Linked DNA regions of Homo sapiens: all the other regions are linked to region 3. The links are contacts of gene promoters, found by promoter capture Hi-C in blood cells and fetal thymus (Javierre and others, 2016). All regions are on one chromosome and are shown on one strand. Each heading gives the region's core, a stretch centred on a gene start or on the middle of the fragment in contact. The rest is flanking DNA. Distances are from core to core; before and after follow the strand shown.

Region 1 (3,622 bases), core at 1,111-3,610, 280 kb before region 3:
TAGTGAAGAATTAACTTAGGGCTTTTGGCTACCGGGAGGTGATCTCTAGGCCCCTGGAATGCCCAGCGTGTTATGAGTATCTTTGTTGGCCTGAGGGCTTTGGCCACCAGTCTAGAGATGTGATTTATGGTGAGGGCTTTGACCCTCTGGACATCAAAGGCTCAGGTGAGCATCACTGGTTGGCAGTATTCTGTATGTATTGTCACACATCGTAACCAGGAGGTAACACAATCCATGACTCTGTAGAGAGAGGAAGATGGGAAGCCCTGTGCATGGACCCCTCCAGGCTCTGCCCTATGTCGCTTCCCTCTGCTGATTTTATTATCTGTGTCCTTTTGCTATAATAAAATTGTAAGCATAATAAAACTGCTTTCCTGAGTACTGTGTGTCATTCTTGTGAATTACCCAACCTGAGGGTGGCCAGACAAGGTCTCTCGGCTTTTTCTTTTTTAAGTACTTTAACTTTGTTAATTTTTTTGTTGTAAATAGCTTATTATTAATTATTTGCTTATTAATTTAGTTTGTAGCTTTAAGTTATTATATAACCAGTTCTATCAGTCTTTTCCTTTACAGCTTTTCTGTACTTACAAAGGTCTTTCTCACTACAAAATTATATAGGCATTCATCTTTATTTTCAAGTTTTTTAGTGTCCTTCTCCCACATTTAACTAATTCCATTTGGAATTTGTTTTCTTGTACTCTTTTAGGTAAAAATCTATTGTTACTTTTTCCCAAACTGATTCTCAATTGACCCAAAACCACCTTTTGCCTCACTGTATTTTTCTTCATTTTTATCACATGCTAAATTCCCACATACACTAGGGTTCATATGTGGTCACTCTATTCTGTTCCATCTATATACAGTCCATCACTCTTGTCTTCAGATTCTGTGGGTTTATAATACATATTAATATCCCATTGCAAACATTTTTCCTACTTATTGTTCCTATTCAAAATATTCTTAGTTTTCTTATTCTTCCATCATAAAATTTTCTGCACCCCAAGAAAATGTTTTACTCAGAACATAAAAGAAAAATTAAAATCACATCATCAATTCCCATCACACCTGCCCCTCCCCAATAAAATCCCACTAGAATTTTTTATTGGAATTGCACTAAACTTAAATATTAATTTGGGAAAATTTGTATACCTACAAAACTGAATCTTTCCATTCAGAAACATGGTATGTCCCCCAGTAAAAACAAATACATTTTTATCCTAGTACTTCTATTTCTTTAATTAAACCCTGACTAAATTAGAGAGTATCTAGGTAGAAGACTCACATTGTCCACCAAAGTCTACCATGGGTTAATTTTGTTTCAAAAACATTAAAACCTATACAACATGAAAAAAATAAATAAATACATTTTATAAATTGTTTTAAGTTGGCATCCTTCATACAGGTCTAGCAAGTTTCTTGTTAACTTCAAGGAAATAGCATTTTTATGGCTCTTAATACACACTGCTCCAGGAAATTTCCACTTCCACCAGCATCATATAAGACTGAATGGGTCCCCCTGAAAATTTGAGCTGATTAAAAAGTATCTCACTGTAGATTTAAAGTGTACTTCTTTGACCACATATATTTATCAGCTGATTGTATTTTTTTCTTTGTGAACTGTATCTTTTGCTTATTTTCTATACTTCGACTTACCAAGTAGAAGTATTTTTCTCAATAGGTCATTTGCCTCTTAATTTTATTATATTTTCTGATATATAGAATTAAAAAGCTTTCCATACTGGCAAATCTCTTCTTTGTGGTTTCTTCAGTGGCATTTATGCTTAGTGAGTCTTACAATTCAAAGATCATGTAATATTTGTGTATATTTTCTTCTATTTATTTATATGTTCTACTTGTTTTATATCTCATGCTTAAGGTCTGAAGAAAGCTGAAAGATCAGTCTTATCCAAGCTCATGTGTAACACAGACTGAGTAAAAGTCCAAGGTCATCTGCCTCCAAGTTCAGAGCTCTTTGCACAACTTTCATTTAGCATGTATCTTCATGTACCCACCATGTGGCAAATAAATGAGGCTTCAGAGAGTAACATAAAGCACAACCCTCATCTAAAGAAGTTAAATAATTGCACCTATAAAACAATCTGAGACTGCCCCACCCCATCAATACAAGCTGAGTGAGTGACAAGCTACGTGCAGAGAGAGAGGAGAGCTCTGTATGCCAACGGCCAGAAGCTGTCATGGAAGGTAGATCTGAGTTCTGCAGATCCAGTCCTGGAGGAGTAGATTGAGTTCACTGTATCCCAGCTGAGCATATCTCTTCAACTTTCACTGATGAAGACATTTCAGAACAAAGAGCTTCTTTCCTAATCAACCACACAATGTACATGCAAATGTCTTACATTGTTACAGTCAGCAGAACTCCTCGCTCCAATTATTTCATGATCAGTCTTGTTTCTTTCTTCTGTTCTGCTATTTACTACCTATAATGGTCAATTCCTAATGACTCAGCAGCACACAAAATGTTTCTTCTCCAGAATCCCCAACATCTCAAAATTAGACTCTGCCATAGTGAGCACAGCTACTGTCCTTTGGATACCACACTAGCAGCCCAGCCTCTGCCCACCTGCAGCAGGGGTTCAGGGGGCACCAGTGGCTCTGCCTTACTGACTCTTATCAGAGAGTGAATGCCCTGAGTGGCAGCCTGTGGCCTCAATCCTGCTATCCCTCACAGAAGTCAGGAGGAAAGGGACAATTGAAGGAAAGAAGAGAAGAAAGTTGTATGTGACAAGAAGCTAAATAACACCAAGTATTGCTATAGGTGCCAGTCAGTGACACCAGGGACACAGGCTGTCTAAGTCAACTGGAAAGGCCACTGAATCTTCTGCAGGCTTGCTTGTGACCAGAAGGCCGCATGATCCCTCCCCTCCTGCCACCACCAAACACAAAATTTCTAAACAATTCATCAAGCCTACCCTCCTCCAAAATTCAGAGGCTTGGGGGGAAGGTTGTTTGCTGCCAAAAGATCTAACAGAAGAAAGCTTACATGCTGATCAAGTTTTAATAACGTGGTTAACAAGAAATGTACACCATTTAGCAAGCACACAAAGACTGTGGGTAGGAACTACTGAACCCTGGAGTGTCTGGCTCCCAAGCCCATTTTCTGCCTACCTTTGGCATAGCTTCATAGTTACTACATTCAGAGAATCCCTTTCTACCCTTATTCTATTGAAAGGATGTGCTCTTCCCTTGCTTTTGGTCTAGGGCCTGGTTGGAGCTAACTAGGCTTGGCTGAGTCTGGGAAAGACCTTCTTCCGTTGCATGGACAAGCCCCAGAGAACATGCAGAACATCGACCTTTACACTGTCTGTCTTTCAGGCAGCCAGTGAAATCACTATGTGGGGATCTTCCATGACATATTTTGTTAATATGGGTTTCACTTTTTCCAAGAATAGTCCCTTGTTGCCACAATGTTGATTTACTTTATACAATGACAGTATGTATTAATTTCTAATTAAACCCATCCAGATTGTTTTAGCCTTTTCCCAATGGGGTGGGGGAGGGAAGAATAATATTAAAATAAGTTTTAAGAAGTAAAAAAGAAAAAAAAACCTACCCTCCTCCTGGGTGAGAAACACAGTTCTGTCCATGCTTAATTCCACCTTGC
Region 2 (3,834 bases), core at 666-3,165, 300 kb before region 3:
AATTAAATTGAAAGTCATCAAACTTTTTAAGGTAAAGCCCAAGACTACAGAATTTATAACTGAACTATTGTGTATTCCCTGAAGGACATTTGCTTTTAGTGATTTTTTCTTAAAAATCAAGTATTCTTTTCTGGCATAAAAATATGACTCCCACATGCAAATCTAATCTACAGTGTGAGAAGTGCAGGCAGTGGTTACGCTGGCAGGAGGATGAAGGGGAAGTGGTGGCTGGCAGTAAGCCCTGAGGAGCTCCCGCAGCTCTCCATGCTTCCTGATCTAGGCTCTGAGTGCACGGGTGTAAGTCCTTTATGTACATGTACACCCTCCTGCTGCATTCAAGGTTTGTACTCTTTTCTGTATACATATTATACTTCAATAAAACATAAACTTAAATTTTTTAAAAAACCAGGTGCAGTGGCTCACACCTACAATCCCAGCAATTTGGAAGGCCAGGGTGGATGGATCACTTGAGCCCAGGAGTTTGAGACCAGCCTGGGCAACATAGTGAGACCTCATCTCTACAAAAAATCAAAAAATGAGGCGGGAGGATCACCTGAGCCTTGGAGGTTGAGGCTACAGTGAGCCGTGATTGCACCACTGCACTCCAGCCTGGGTGACAGAGTGTGACACTGCCTCAATTTAAAAATAAAAAATAAAAAAAGACACAGGCCTTGATCTTAAGAAGTCCACAATCCAGCATAAACAGAAGATGATGACAGCTGTCACAGTTGCATGTCTGACACCCACAAACCAACAGTGAATCACCAGACTAACCTACAAAGAAGCTCTAAATTTGCGGTTCAACAAGAATTCAAGGAATAAGGTTACTGGGGCCCAGGAAAGTAAATAGATACATATATACATTCACTCACTCACTGGTTCTCCGTATACTCACTCATCAACTCCCCATTTCTTCTTCTCAAATAAAAGTTGTAAATGGGTGTCAAGATTCTATTTTGGTACCACCTTATTACTACCTTCCTCTCACAATGGGAGGGAACATTCAAAAGACATTTAAAGGGACTTGGTCATAGGAAGCCCCCAGTGGTACCTTAATAGTTGTGAGCATGTCTAAGTGAGCCCACGTGGTGGAGATGTGATGTCAGAGATGGGAAATGAGGGAGTCAGAAGTGGTCTCACCATGTCACTGGCCTCCAGGTTATCATCCAATGTCCATCATTTCCTACCTGCTGCTAGTGAGAAGACCTTGGTGCTCCTTGGACTGAACTTTGGCCTAGGACTTGCCTGAAGCTCTGTGTACAGCTTTAAACCCCAACTTTCCAGCACTGACCACCATGACAGGACGGAACCCAGTGTCCTGGGGTAAAACCCAAGGGGTAGCAGCTGCACTGGGGAGACATGTACCCAGTCTGGACTAGTCCTTAATGTGTGGTTTTCACCTTCATGAAGGCCTCTCATGCTTCTTTCTTTGACAGGAAGGACTTGGGGGAAGTCCCTCTGATTTCCCCCTGCTGACACTGGTCCGCTTTGGCCGCTTGACGTGTGTGGGCTTCCTGAAGTCTCTGTTGCTGCGGACCAGGGCATATCACTTTGCCCATGGTCAAAGGAAGAAAGGAAAATTTCCACCCACCTGAGATAGGCTGCTTCTATCTTCAGCCTGAGGCAGAGCAGTCATCACTCATCACCAGCACCCCTCAGGTCTTTCTTTGCTGGACTAGTGTCAGGGGCAGGGGCAGGGGCGGGGACAGTTCAATCCAGGAGACCTGGGTTCCAGCTGTAGTTCTGGTTTAGCTGTGCTTCTTCCCTAGCTCTGTGATGACAAGCAAATTATTTTTCATGTCTTCACCTTGGCTTCCTAATCTGGACTATAAGAAGGTATTTTAAAATAATCTCTAAAATCCTCTAGAATATAAATTCCATGAGGATGTCATCTTGCAGCAGAAGAGCTCAATAAAATATTTGATCAAGAAATAGTTAGGCTGAGTGCAGTGGCTCACTCCTGTATTCTCAGAACTTTGGGAGGCTGAGGTGGGCAGATCACTTGAGGCCAGGAGTCTGAGACCAGCCTGGCCAACATGGCAAAACTCCATCTCTACTAAAAATACAAAAAAATTAGCTGGACATGGTGACACACACCTGTAATCCCAGCTACTCAGGAGGCTGAAGCATGAGAATCACTTGAACCCAGGAGGCAGAGGTTGCAGTGAGCCAAGATCACACCACTGCACTCCAGCCTGGCCAAAGAGTGAGACTCTCTCAAAAAATAAAAATAAAAAAATTTTAAAAAGGAAATAGTTGGCCGGGTGCAGTGGCTCATGCCTGTAATCCCAGCACTTTGGGAGGACGAGGCGGGCAGACCACGAGGTCAGGAGTTCGAGACTAGCCTGGCCAATACGGTGAAACCCCGTCTCTACTAAAGATACAAAGAATTAGCTGGGTATGGTGGTGGGCGCTTGTAATCCCAGCTACTCAGGAGGCTAAGGCAGAATTGCTTGAACCTGGGAGGCGGAGGTTGCAGTGAGCTGAGATTGCGCCATTGCACTCCAGCCTGGCAACAGAGCAAGATTCCATCTCAAGAAAAAAAAAAAAAAAAAGGAAATAGTTAAAGGAATCTCTTCTGAGGTCAACTGCCCCATGTCTCATCCACTTGGCCTGCCTCTGATTTCAGCCACAACTATAGTAAATAGACAGTGCCTGCAAAGCTCAGACTCACCCTGTGACAGTGCCCCATCTCAAGGCCAGCCCTACAAGTCTATCTGCTTTCTGTCTTCGTTTCTGGCTCAGCCTCACTGCCTCACAATCTCAAATGCAACAAAAACATTTTACTTCTTCGTCCTTCAAAGTCATTAACTTGCGCATGATCTCAGAGTGTGCAAAGATTTTCTAAACAGAACAAATTAAAAGCATTAAAAGATTTTCTAAATAGAACAAATTAAAAGCATTAACCATAGGAAAGACTAGCGATTTGAACTAATATTCCTAAAAAGACATCGTTAGGAGAGTCAAAACGCAACTATGAGCTAAGAAAATATATTTGCAATATATGTATTTAGCAAAGGACTCATATCCAAAATAAAGAACTGCTGCAAGTCAGTAACAGAAAGATCAACAGCCAGCCACCAAAGATTACATATTATTCCATTCATATAGAATTTAAAAATGGGTAAAATTTCCATTAATGGTAACAGAAGTCGGAATAGTGATTATCTTTGAGTGGAGTATTACAGAGAAGGACTACAAGGGGAGGTGCTGGGCTGATGGAAATGATCAGTATCTCAATCTCAGTAATGATTCCACAGATGTATACAACGGATTTTATGTAAAATTCATCAAGTTGTATACTTTGTACACTTTGCAACAGATAAGTTTGAGTTCAATAAAAAAGGGGGTGGGAATCGAGGCTGTTTAGGTCACATACTCACTCCTGCATCCAAGGGAATAGTGTGTTGATTGGCTTGGGACGGGGTCCTATGGCCCATCCTGAGGGCTGAGGATGGAGCCCACCCAGACCAAAAATGGACAGAGGAGGGAATCTCCAAGGGGGATTGAAAAGTATTTGCAGAAGATGAGGAAAAAGATGTTCTAAGGGAGACAACTAATTTCTAATGGTCAGGACAGAGGTGGGCCTTACCTTTAGCAAGTGGAGCTGGAAAATATAGGAGAGAGAGAAAGACAGAGACACAGAGACAGAGAGACAGGGGCAGAGAGATGCAGAGTAACCAGCCGTCGGCTTTCCAATTCTTTGTTCTCACTCCTGTGAGTGAAGCTGCACTTCCTATGTGGGGGTTCTGAAAGGTTTCCCTGTATCTGTGGGGGAACTTGTTATTCTTTTTGACCATCTGGCATTTTGAGCCTGCTTTTAATTGTTTGGGG
Region 3 (4,211 bases), core at 474-2,973:
TGCAAAAATTCTATCAGTGAGAAAATTATAGCAGTGGAGGAGATCTGATCTAGCCAAACCCCATCTTGCCTTTAGCTTTCAGTCTGTCCTTAATTATTCCTGGGCTTAAGCCAAGATAACTTTGGGAGACATTTAGTTTAATAGTTTAAATAATTACAGTCCTTCCCCAAAACTCAATTGCCTTTGTAAAGCTAATGAGAGACCACCAGACAACGGGGATAGATGAGCCTGAATTCTGTTAAGTGTAGACATAAGTGATTGCCAGCCATTATTCCAGAGGTCACAAGATATGCAACTTCCCCAATTACTCCTACAGATAACATCACTATTGTAGAATCTAGGATTGGCCTTTTTGGGTATATTTTTAAGTTTTTTGCATGTTTGACTACTGATGGCTCCACCTGGACCCACCAACTGTTCCTGTGGCTCCACCCAGAAACAACTCAGTAGGCAGGAGGACCATCTCCCATACCCCTATGACTGCACCAGTCAGCAGCAAGCACCCATTGCCTAGCCACCCCTACCCCTTTCCCCAGACTACCTTTGAAAAGAAACCTAGCCCCCAAATGCTCCAGGAGGCCGATTTGAGTAATAATATAACTGATTTGAGTAATAATAAAACTTCTTCCATTTTTCCACTCGATGTTGTGTAAAACTCTTTCTCCATTGCAATCCCTATACCTTGATAAATCATCTGTATCTGGGCAGCAGGCAAGAAGAATCCACTGGGCCACTATATCTGGATCTAAAGGCCATGTATTTTCCACTACAAGCTAATTAACAAGAGGTATCCTTTCCCCTCAGAAACAACTGGACACACCTGTGTAGATTCTACATAAAGAACAGCTAAAGAAAATCTGGTTAATACTTAGCCTAGTATACTTACCAGGAAATCAGCAACAGTCTTTCTCTGATATTCCTGAAATTGTAATCCCCACCTTACACTTGTATCACTTGTTTTCTAAATATTAATATACGGTAAAAATCAGGTGGCTGTGTGCTATGGGAAAATCTGGAGGAAAAGATAATTTTAAAAATATACTTTTTTGGCTCTGCTTGCTACTGAAAAAAAATTTTTTTAAGAAAATATACTCTTCCCTCCTTAACATTAAAGTGAATCCACAGAAGATGTGTTTGGTGAAGTGTCTGGTGGTGAATACTAAGTAGAAAGGGCAGACTAACACAGCCTTAGAGCCTGGATAAAATCCTGGTGTCCTGAAAGTTTGACCGTGGGAAATCTGGAGGATAAGGTCTATCTCTGGTCTGTCTATCTAACTTCTGCACCTTGCACATAGTAGAGGCCTGACAGATACATGCCAACCCATGTGTGCATGCAATAATTCAATCCACAATTAGGAACATTGTGCCAAAAGGAGACCCACCAACTAAAAAGAAATACAAATTCTTAGCTTTCTGTGACTACCCTTTACTGCCTTTGCTGGCGAAAACAAAGAAGAAAAGAGGAGGCTTCAGTATTCAAATACTGCCAGTTCCGCAGTGAATTCTAAAAATGGTTACTCTTGGGATACAAGGAACCCCCACGAGGATAAACAACCTCTGAGGTTACCTGAATGCCCCAGCAAAGGGCACGACTACTTCCGGAGCCGCACCGGAACCCCTTGGCGGATTATGTGGGTTCCTGCGGGAACGATTTAAGAATAGGACTACTTCCTGCTTCTGGATATGGGCCGGTGAAGGGAAAGGAAATAGCTCTACGAGCGGCATCCTGCCTGCGTTAGCGGCGGTGGAGGAGGAGGCAGAGAGGAGTGGAGGGCGGAGTAGACGGAGGAGGCTGCTGCAGAGAAGAAAGTGTCAGAGCCGGTAAGTGAGCCAGTCACCTTAGAGCAGGGGACAGCGGACAGCGCCCCAGGGCTCGCTTCGCAGATATGTGGTCCCAAGTTGCTGAGCTGCCCCATGGGGTCAGGTCGGTCGCCTGTCAGTCGGCGCCGAGAAGAGACTGTTGGGGCGCTGGGGCCGGGCCTCGCGGAGCGCCAGAGTGCGCTCTCGCTGGCTGACAGCCTATCTCGGGAGCCAGAGGAGGCCCCGGGCTTTGTCCTGCCTGGTGGTGCTGGGGTTTCGCATCCTGGACAGCTTCCCCAGACAGTGTTTGGAATTCAGGGAAGGAAGAAAGTACGTGCGCCCCCATTTAACCCTCGGGACCTGGCGAAATCCTGCTACGTGGGTAGTGAACATTGTATCGGGGACTGAAGGAAATGCTTGTAAAGAGTGTTAGTCTGGAGCCATACTTTCCCTGCCCTGTTCAAGCTCCCTGGACTGTCGGAAGCGGAGTTGTTTGTAAAGGCAAATGCAGACGCCTCCTCCTCCTGTCACTTCGGGACAAGTTAACAATCTTCAGATTCGTTATTAAAGCCTCGTGTACCCTATGTGATCTATCAGGTTAGTACTGCTGTGGGTATCTGGTGCTTGTTCTGTAAATATACTTGATGTCGAGATCACAGTTAAATATCTCCAAGCACTTTTTGAAGAGAAACAAGACTGACCTAACAGTCGGGACTATTTAGCATACTTTCCCTCACCTTTACTTTAATCGTTTTAGCATGCAGAGTAAGGATGGTAATCTTAAATGTACTAGATTAAGTTATTGTGCATCTGCAGAAGGCCTGTGGTATAATAGGATATGAAACTCTTGATAACTGACGAAATGAGTGAAATGATTATATAAAGATTGTTACTGTAAAGATCAGAAATAGCTTTTATTAAGTTCCTGCTTTTCTGTTGTCTTAGGTTCGGCTTTAGAGTGTGGTGAAGGGTACTTTTCATGGTGCATGGAAGGAAAGCCAATGCGCAGGTAGGCATTTAGGAAGAAAACCTTTGGTTTCACTGATTAAAATTCAGCATGTAATAATTTAAATTTTTAAAAAAGAGTTTCAATCTTACTAAATTCTGCTTGGAACTAATGAGTCTTGTTCTACAATAAATCAAAAGTAATATTAAGAATTAATAGCTTTTTAATAGAATAAAATACAGAAGTTGTTTCTGAAAAGTGCTGTGGATTGTATGTAGTGCTAAACACTTAAATTTTCCTTTTTTCATGTTTTTTACAGTAAATAATCATTAAGTTCATTATGATACTATATGGATTTATTATAATCTTCAGTTCCCTATAAAATGTAGAGGATTCTGTTCCCATGTAAGAATCATAATTATTTATAATATACTGTACTGCATGCCTAATTATGGTTTTGGTTATTTCCTTGATGTTCAATCATACATTTGTTCTGTTAATTAAAATAGCTGCATTGTAGGGAAGATTGTATAAGGACTAAAATAGGTATTAGACATAATAACTTAGTCCATAGAAAAATAGAACAATGTCTGGGAAAATATAGACAATAAATAGGCCCTCCCAACCCTAGAATTTAATAATGTTTTTTCTCATTTTGTTCTAACAAATGAGACTAGAATCTTTATGATACAAAATCATCCCAGTTCTATTTCTTTGGTTTTTACATTTGTTTTCTATTTATTGAACTCTATTTAATCATTTGTTATTTAACATCAAAGATAAACAACTTCTGCAGTTCTTTTAAGAGAAGAAACATTTTATAATGGGAATATGACTTATAACTCAGAACTTGGAGCAAGAACCAGAATGTATATCTTTATCCAAATCTGTTATTGGTTTATCAATTGACCTTGAGCTGTTCACCTTCTCTGTACCCCAGTTTACTTCTTTAGTGTATCTGATCAGGATATTGGGGATTAATGAACATTTGCAAATGCTTTAAGATCTCCAGATGAAAAGATGTTATCAAGATGAAAAATACCATTATCTTATTTATATTTTACTCTGTAGTAGGAATAATATTTTACCACAATGTACATGAAAAAATTAACAACATAATATTAAATACTTCATCCCTTTACTTCTAACATTATTGCAAAACCCACTGATTGTGTCTCATCTCCAGCTACCATAAAATGTCATATCTTATATAATTGCTAAAATAAGAGCTTATTATTTTTTAAAAGAATAGCAGAGTGTGGGAATGTTTTTGGTTTATCAGTAGTCTATATAAAATATTTGCTTAATCACTCATACCTGCTCCTTTTTTCTTGCTTTATTACATAATACTGTCAGCTATTCAGAATCATGCTGGATAATTCTAGTGCTGTTAATCGTTAAGCTACGGCTCTTTCTTCATCACTGTCACTTGGCCAGAGCCTAGCCTACTCACATTGGTCTCTGG

The links. The method cuts DNA at HindIII sites, captures the fragments that hold promoters and counts their contacts. A CHiCAGO score of 5 or more calls a contact.
Region 1: a fragment that was not itself captured here is called in contact with the fragment with the promoter of KLHL20 in region 3 in 13 of 17 cell types (megakaryocytes, M1 macrophages, naive CD8 T cells and 10 more); the score reaches 9.2 in megakaryocytes.
Region 2: a fragment that was not itself captured here is called in contact with the fragment with the promoter of KLHL20 in region 3 in 2 of 17 cell types (neutrophils and M1 macrophages); the score reaches 6.3 in neutrophils.

The regions. Positions count from the first base shown.
Region 1 is chr1:173,436,892-173,440,513 of GRCh38, forward strand. The region is part of intron 1 of PRDX6-AS1 (PRDX6 antisense RNA 1); the gene reads right to left. The region is part of intron 2 of LOC100506023 (a long non-coding RNA gene); the gene reads right to left. It also overlaps a transcript of TNFSF4 not described here. Among named protein-coding and RNA genes, the nearest start is that of PRDX6-AS1, 23 kb to the right of the region's middle. The HindIII fragment of the contact is 1,267 bases long and covers 1,728-2,994 here.
Region 2 is chr1:173,409,580-173,413,413 of GRCh38, forward strand. All of the region lies in intron 2 of LOC100506023 (a long non-coding RNA gene), which reads right to left. It also overlaps a transcript of TNFSF4 not described here. Among named protein-coding and RNA genes, the nearest start is that of PRDX6-AS1, 50 kb to the right of the region's middle. RefSeq lists an enhancer at 1,120-1,669. The HindIII fragment of the contact is 6,231 bases long and covers 1-3,834 here.
Region 3 is chr1:173,713,258-173,717,468 of GRCh38, forward strand. KLHL20 (kelch like family member 20) reads left to right here and starts at 1,724. Exons shown (of 12, transcript NM_014458.4): 1 at 1,724-1,821; 2 at 2,746-2,809. The coding sequence starts at 2,787. It also overlaps a transcript of ANKRD45 not described here. RefSeq lists enhancers at 1,628-1,817, 1,898-2,267. The HindIII fragment of the contact is 9,904 bases long and covers 1-4,211 here.